2 separate regions of the Homo sapiens genome follow, and region 2 is linked to region 1. Evidence: promoter capture Hi-C in human tissues and cell types (Jung and others, 2019). All regions are on one chromosome and are shown on one strand. The core of a region is centred on a gene start or on the middle of the fragment in contact, and the rest is flanking DNA. Distances in the headings are between cores, read along the strand shown. Region 1 holds the start of SOX17 (SRY-box transcription factor 17). Region 2 has its middle 18 kb from the start of NPBWR1.

Evidence for each region. The method cuts DNA at HindIII sites, captures the fragments that hold promoters and counts their contacts. A contact is called where the count stands out against the background at its distance.
Region 2: a contact is called between a fragment that was not itself captured here and the fragment with the promoter of SOX17 in region 1, in 1 of the 25 tissues and cell types used here (dorsolateral prefrontal cortex).

The regions. Positions count from the first base shown.
Region 1 is chr8:54,455,673-54,459,184 of GRCh38, forward strand. It overlaps SOX17 (SRY-box transcription factor 17), which reads left to right and starts at 2,263. Exons shown (of 2, transcript NM_022454.4): 1 at 2,263-2,773; 2 at 3,386-3,512. The coding sequence starts at 2,467. The HindIII fragment of the contact is 11,857 bases long and covers 1-3,512 here.
Region 2 is chr8:52,955,248-52,958,800 of GRCh38, forward strand. No RefSeq gene overlaps it. Among named protein-coding and RNA genes, the nearest start is that of NPBWR1, 18 kb to the left of the region's middle. The HindIII fragment of the contact is 6,265 bases long and covers 1-3,553 here.

The sequences.
Region 1 (3,512 bases), core at 1,013-3,512:
TTCTCCACCTTCTTGGCTCCCAAGCGCACCTCTCCCAATAATGAGCTGGGTGAGGAAGAGCATGAGGATGAAGAAAGTGTACAGGGCTAAATCTGTATATGTACATTTTTTGGACTCACACCTGGATTGTATTTCCTGTAGTGTTTTTTAAGGAATTAGTCAAACAGACTAGACAGATAAAAATGAATTCTGGACCAGATATTGTTTTTTAATTTTCAATGTTTATTCTAGGAAAACTCCTTAGCTCATAAAAGATTTAGTGTTAAGAGAAAATTCTGCTTTGAGAGCTTTGAAAAATATTTATTATTATCCAGAAAAGTTAGAAAAGATCTCAAAAAAAAAAAAAAAAAAAACAGCAAAAAACAAGGTACTACGGGGTTAATTTGTAGATTGCTCTCTCTCCTCCTATAGTTTTGTTGCTTATTTAATCATTTGCAATGTGCTTTTGCTTTATACTGAAGCCCATTTTTTTTTCAGAAAAAATAAAGCTTTAAAAGTACATCATCATTTAAATTTGTCTAAAATCAACCGCTTTCAAAACTACCAACTAGAAGTAACACCTCTCTATGATTTCTTTATGCAGATTTAATTTTTTTTCTTGTTTGAATCTTAGAGACCCAGGAACTAGAAACACTTTCTTAACTTGTCCCCTAGCCAAGGCTTCACAGATACTTGCAGAATTAAAGATAAGTTGGCTTAAAACAATTGTGTAAGAGTTCTTTTGAGAAAAAGCAATGCCAGAGAAACTGAAGGCCAGGAGTTTGCAAAAGTTTTGTATTTTTATGGATGCCACTAATAAGCAAGACTGGACAGACGGTCTTGTTGTTGTAGTATCACACTCAAAGCAGCAGCATTTTACTTCTCAGATTCCAGGTGTAAGCTCTACTTTTTTATCACGCCTTCATAATAAAGAAAATCTGTTCTGGAGATTCGTATATTGATTTCTTTGCAAAGTTATCTCTAATTATGCAGGAATGGCTGTTAGTTGCCCTCAAAAACCAACACAAATACACAAACACAACAGCCTGGCTTAGTGATTATTAAGAGCTGCAAGTCTGAAGGCGGACTGCTGGGTGTGAATTCCACCTTCTCAACGCTGTAGTCTCCAGCAAGTTCCTTAACTTCTCTGCCTCCGTTTCCTTTCCTGTAAGATAGAGTCTACCTCAGGGTTAATATGAGGATATGCTTCTTTGCTAATGCTGGAGGGCGCTAGGAATAGCAGTGGCAGGCTGTGTCATTTCTCAGTGTTGTATAACGGCTTGTTTTAAAAGTCCCACTGAAAACTTTTTTTTTTTCCAGATCGAAACACAAGTTTAATAGTCATTCAGATTTCATTCCAGTCTAAAGAAACTTATAGAAATCTAATTATCTGCCAGAATAACCGCTTTAAACTGACTGTAAGAACCACAGTTACTTTGCAGCTAAAACAGATTGTTCTCTTCCCCCAAACAAACTCGGACATTTAGACAAATATTGCTGCTGTCTTTACATTTTAGAAATCAGTATTAAGGCTCACCTGTTACTGAACACATACGAGAAACAGTTTTGTTATGCGTATCTTATATACATCATGTATACATTTTCGTACTTTCACATGATGTGTATAATAAGATACACATAAAAACTGGTTGGCTTGTCATGAGTAAATGCTTTATTCTTTAGAGTGAAGGAATATTGGATACAGAACGTCGTTCCATATTTAATCTTGCTTTAGAAAATTAGGATTTATCTTGGACACAGCATTTTGAATATAACACAGGCAAGTTGAGTCCTGGGGGAAAAATTGTATTTTTAAATTTATTATCAACGGTGTCTTTCGCATTTGAGAAAACACATTTGAAGATGCCCATGCAGTTCCTTGGAAGTAAACTAGGTCACCCACCACTGAAACACCCTCGGCTTCTGCAAAAAGATGTGCTTTAAAGAGAATAGAATGGACGCTCGGTATGTTCATCTAAACGACCTTGGGCAAGTACGTCGATTCCAAGGTACAATCAGCCCTCCCAGACGGCTTTTCGAGTCTCCCTAACCCCGGTGGGAGAGGACGCGGCGCCAGAGCCCAGCTCCGGCTAGTTTTCCCGGGGGCAGGTGTAGCCTTGGGCGCGGGGCCGGGGGAGGGGCAAGGGGCGGGCGTGGGGTTGGACTGGGACGTGGGACTCGGACCACGGCCTGGGCGTGGGCCTAACGACGCGGGACCGGCCCGCCCTCGCCGCTCCATTGGCCACATCTGTGCAGAAAAGGCCCCGCGGCCCAGGGGCGCCCGCAGTGTCACTAGGCCGGCTGGGGGCCCTGGGTACGCTGTAGACCAGACCGCGACAGGCCAGAACACGGGCGGCGGCTTCGGGCCGGGAGACCCGCGCAGCCCTCGGGGCATCTCAGTGCCTCACTCCCCACCCCCTCCCCCGGGTCGGGGGAGGCGGCGCGTCCGGCGGAGGGTTGAGGGGAGCGGGGCAGGCCTGGAGCGCCATGAGCAGCCCGGATGCGGGATACGCCAGTGACGACCAGAGCCAGACCCAGAGCGCGCTGCCCGCGGTGATGGCCGGGCTGGGCCCCTGCCCCTGGGCCGAGTCGCTGAGCCCCATCGGGGACATGAAGGTGAAGGGCGAGGCGCCGGCGAACAGCGGAGCACCGGCCGGGGCCGCGGGCCGAGCCAAGGGCGAGTCCCGTATCCGGCGGCCGATGAACGCTTTCATGGTGTGGGCTAAGGACGAGCGCAAGCGGCTGGCGCAGCAGAATCCAGACCTGCACAACGCCGAGTTGAGCAAGATGCTGGGTGAGTCCGAGTCGCAGACCCAGGCGGCCGGGCGCGCTGGCGCGAATCGCTAGGCCGATTTCTTAAACCCCAAACTGTTCTTTGCGAGCCTGACGCCCAAAACCAGGGGTGTGTAGCGGCCACGTCCTTTCTTAAGGCTCTGGGTTCCCTTCCCGCTTCCCGCCCTCCGACCCTCCAAAGCAGCTTTCCGCCTTGCTCTCCGGCTCCCGGATTCCCCAGGTGGCCGGGGGCGCGGGTCCAACGGCTCTGGGAAGGCGACTTCCCGGCACCTCCGGGCGGCGCGAGAGCACCCTTGGCCCTGAACTGGGCCGGTTGTGTCCATCCCTCGACCCCTTCCCTAGTTAGGTGTCCTTTTCTGTTTTTCGAACGACCGGGTGATGGGTGAGCGGAAAGCCGCTTCCAGGAGACCAAAAGAAAGGGGTGCCTTTAGAGGACGGGTGTTCCCCAAGGGCTCGGACTCAGGAGTCCCAGATCTCCCTCTTTAACTTCACCCCGGTTGCGCAATTCAAAGTCTGAGGGGGGAGGTGCGTCCAGGTGGGGCCAGGTGGGGCCTGGAGCGGGAGCGCAGCCGATAAGCCCTGCGCCCCTCTCCCCCTTCCTTCCACTGTGCAGGCAAGTCGTGGAAGGCGCTGACGCTGGCGGAGAAGCGGCCCTTCGTGGAGGAGGCAGAGCGGCTGCGCGTGCAGCACATGCAGGACCACCCCAACTACAAGTACCGGCCGCGGCGGCGCAAGCAGGT
Region 2 (3,553 bases), core at 501-3,000, 1.5 Mb before region 1:
ACCCCTTTCACTTGCTATTCTGTCCTAGTTTTCCTTAGAATTTGGGGGCTAAATACCGGGCACCTGTAGGCTAGTTAAAAGTGATGAGCTTGGCCACTGGACCTAAAACATGGGTGTCAGGCTTTCTGGGAAAGGGCTCTCTAACAACCCCCGACTCTTCGGAGTTGGGAGTGTTCGTTTGCCTAGAACCAGCTTCTGCTTTTCCTGTGCTTCTGGGCTGAGCCGAGGGTCGACAGAGAGGAAAGCCATGCAGCTCCGGGGTCCCGACAACAAGTTGGTTGACCCTGCGGCCATGAGCAGAACTCTCAAAGGCATGTCGCCCAAGTGAGACTCACCCATCTATCCTATCTATCCTGACCCTTGCCCCTTGGGTCCTAGTGCCTGCCAGACAAGCTTCGTCCGCCTCTCTTCTCCAAAGTTAGTCGCACTTCTAAAAATTTCTCCCTGTCTCTGGTGCTTTTCTAGTGTCTCCTATAAGAATGACTTCTAGTATAAACTCCAAAACTCTGTTATCTTCTTTAGGCACCCTGGCTCACCAATCAGAAAGACATAATTTTTGCCCAAAGCCCCATCATAGGGGGTACTACCTGGAATTTTAGGATCCCTCCTCAGATTAACAGTCCTAACAAAAGCTATTCCTGAAGCTAGGATATGGGGAGCCTCAGAAATTGTATCCTTCCTATTCATATAAGTGAGGAAAAAAGGAGTAACTATTCCAACCCTGGAGATCTCTTCCCTCCCTCAGGGTATGGCCCTCCACTTCATTTTTGGGGCATAACATCTTTATAGGACAAAGGTAAAGTCCCATTACTAACAGGAAAATGCTTAGGACTCTAACAGGTTTTTGAGAATGCGTTAGTAAGGGCCACTAAATCCGATTTTTCTTGGTCCTCCATGTGGTATAGGAGGACAGGCAAGGGTGCAGGTTTTCAAGAATGTGTCAGAAAGGGCCACTAAATCAGACTTTCCTCGGTCCTCCATGTGGTCTGGGAGGAAAACTAGTGTTTCTGCTGCTGTGTTGGTGAGCACAACTATTCTGATCAGCAGGGTGCAGGGACTGTTGCGGGTTCTTGGGCAGGAGGAGAAACAAAACAAAACAAAACTGCAGGCGGTTTTTTCTTTCAGATGTGAAGCACTCAGGCATCAACAGGCTCACTCTTGAAATGCATCCTAAGCCATGGGGACCAATTTGACCCACAAACCCTGAAAAAGAGGCGGCTCATTTTTTTTCTGCACTACGGCTCGGCCCCAATATTCTCTCTCTGATGGGGAAAAAAGGCCACCTGAGGGAGGTATAAATTACAATACTAATCTGCAGCTTGGCCTTTTCTGTAAGAGGGAAGGCAAGTGGAGTGAAATACCTTATGTCCAAGCTTTCTTTTCATTGAGGGAGAATACACAACTATGCAAAGCTTGCAATTTACATCCCACAGGAGGACCTCTCAGCTTACCCCCATATCCTAGCCTCCCTATAACTCCCCTTCCTATTAATAATAATCCTCCTCTAATCTCCCCTGCCCAGAAGGAAATAAGCAAAGAAATCTCCAAAGGACCACAACTCCCCCATCGGGCCATCAGTTATGTCCCCTTCAAGCTGTAGGGGGAGGGGAATTTGGTGCAACCTGGGTACCTGTCCCCTTCTCCCTCTCTGACTTAAAGCAGATCAAGGCAGACCTGGGGAAGTTTTCAGATGATCCTGATAGGTACATAGATGTCCTACAGGGTCTAGGGCAAACCTTTGCCCTCGCTTGGAGAGATGTCATGCTACTGTTAGATCAAACCCTGGCCTTTAATGAAAAGAATGTGGTTTTGGCTGCAGCCTGAGAGTTTGGAGATACCTGGTATCTTAGTCAAGTAAATTATAGAATGACAGTCAAACAAAAGGGAAAAATTCCCTACCAGTCAGCAAGTCATCCCCAGTATGGATCCCCACTGGGACCTCGACTCAGATCATGGGGACTGGAGTCATAAACATCTGTTGACCTGTGTTCTAGAAGGACTAAAGAGAATTAGGAAAAAGCCCATGAATTATTCAATGATGTCCACCATAACTCAGGGAAAGGAAGAAAATCCTTCTGTCTTCCTTGAGCGGCTATGGGAGGCCTTAAGAAAATATATTCCCCTGTCACCTGAATCATTTGAGGGTCAATTGATTCTAAAAGATAAATTTATTACCCAATCAGCCCCAGGTGCAGATATCAGGAGAAAGTTCCAAAAGTAAGCCCTGGGCCCTGAAAAAAATCTGGAGGCATTTTAAAACCTGGCAACCTTGGTGTTCTATAATAGGGACCAAGAGAAATAGGCCCAAAAGGAAAAACAAGATCAGAGAAAGGCCACAGCCTTGGTCATGGCCCTCAGACAAACAAACCTTGGTGGTTCAGGGAGGACAGAAAATGGAGCAGGCCAATCACCTGGTAGGGCTTGTTATCAGTGTGGTTTACTAGGACACCTTAAAAAAGATTGTCCAATGAGAAACAAGCTGCCCCCCTCGTCCATGTCCACTATGCTGAGGCAATCACTGGAAGGTGCGCTGCCCCAGAGGATGAGGGTTCTCTGGGTCAGAAGTCCCCAACCAGATGATCCAACAACAGGACTGAGGGTGCCCAGGGCAAGCACCAGCTCATATCTTCACCCTCTCTGAGCCCCGGGTACCTTTAACCATTAACGGCCAGGAAATTGACTTCCTCCTGGACACTGGCATAGCCTTCTCAGTGTTAATCTCCTGTCCTGGACAACTGTCCTCAAGGTCTGTTACCATCTGAGGAATCCTGGGACAGCCTGTAACCACGTATTTCTCCCACCTCCTCCGTTGTATTTGGGGGACTTTGCCCTTTTCACATGCCTTTCTTGTTATGCCTGAAAGTCCCACACCCTTATTAGGGAAGGATATATTAGCTAAGGCTGAGCTATTATCTACATGAATATGGGGAACAAGTTACCCATTTGTTGTCCCCTACTTGAAGAGGGAATCAACCCTGAAGTCTGGGCTTTGGAAGGACAATTTGGAAGGGCAAAAAATGCCCACCCAGTCCAAATCAGGTTAAAAGATCCCACCGCTTTTCCTTATCAAAGGCAATATCCCTTAAGGTCTGAAGCTCATAAAGGATTACAGAATATTGTTAAACATTTGAAAGCTCAAGGCTTAGTAAGGAAATGCAGCAGTCCCTGCAACACCCCAATTCTAGGAATACAAAACCTGAATGGTCAGTGGAGACTAGTGCAAGATCTTAGACTCATCAATGAGGCAGTAATTCCTCTACATCGAGTTATACCCAACCCCTATACCCTGCTCTCTCAGATACCAGAGGAAGCAGAATGGTTCACAGTTCTGGACCTCAAGGATTCCTTCTGTATTCCCCTGCACTCTGACTCCCAGTTTCTCTTTGCCTTTGAGGATCCCACAGACCAAACATCCCAACTTATGTGGACGGTCTTGCCCCAAGGGTTTAGGGATAGCCCTCATCTGTTTGATCAGGCACTGGCCCAAGATCTAGGCCACTTCTCAAGTCCAGGCAGTCTGGTCCTTCAGTATGTGGATGATTTACTTTTGGCT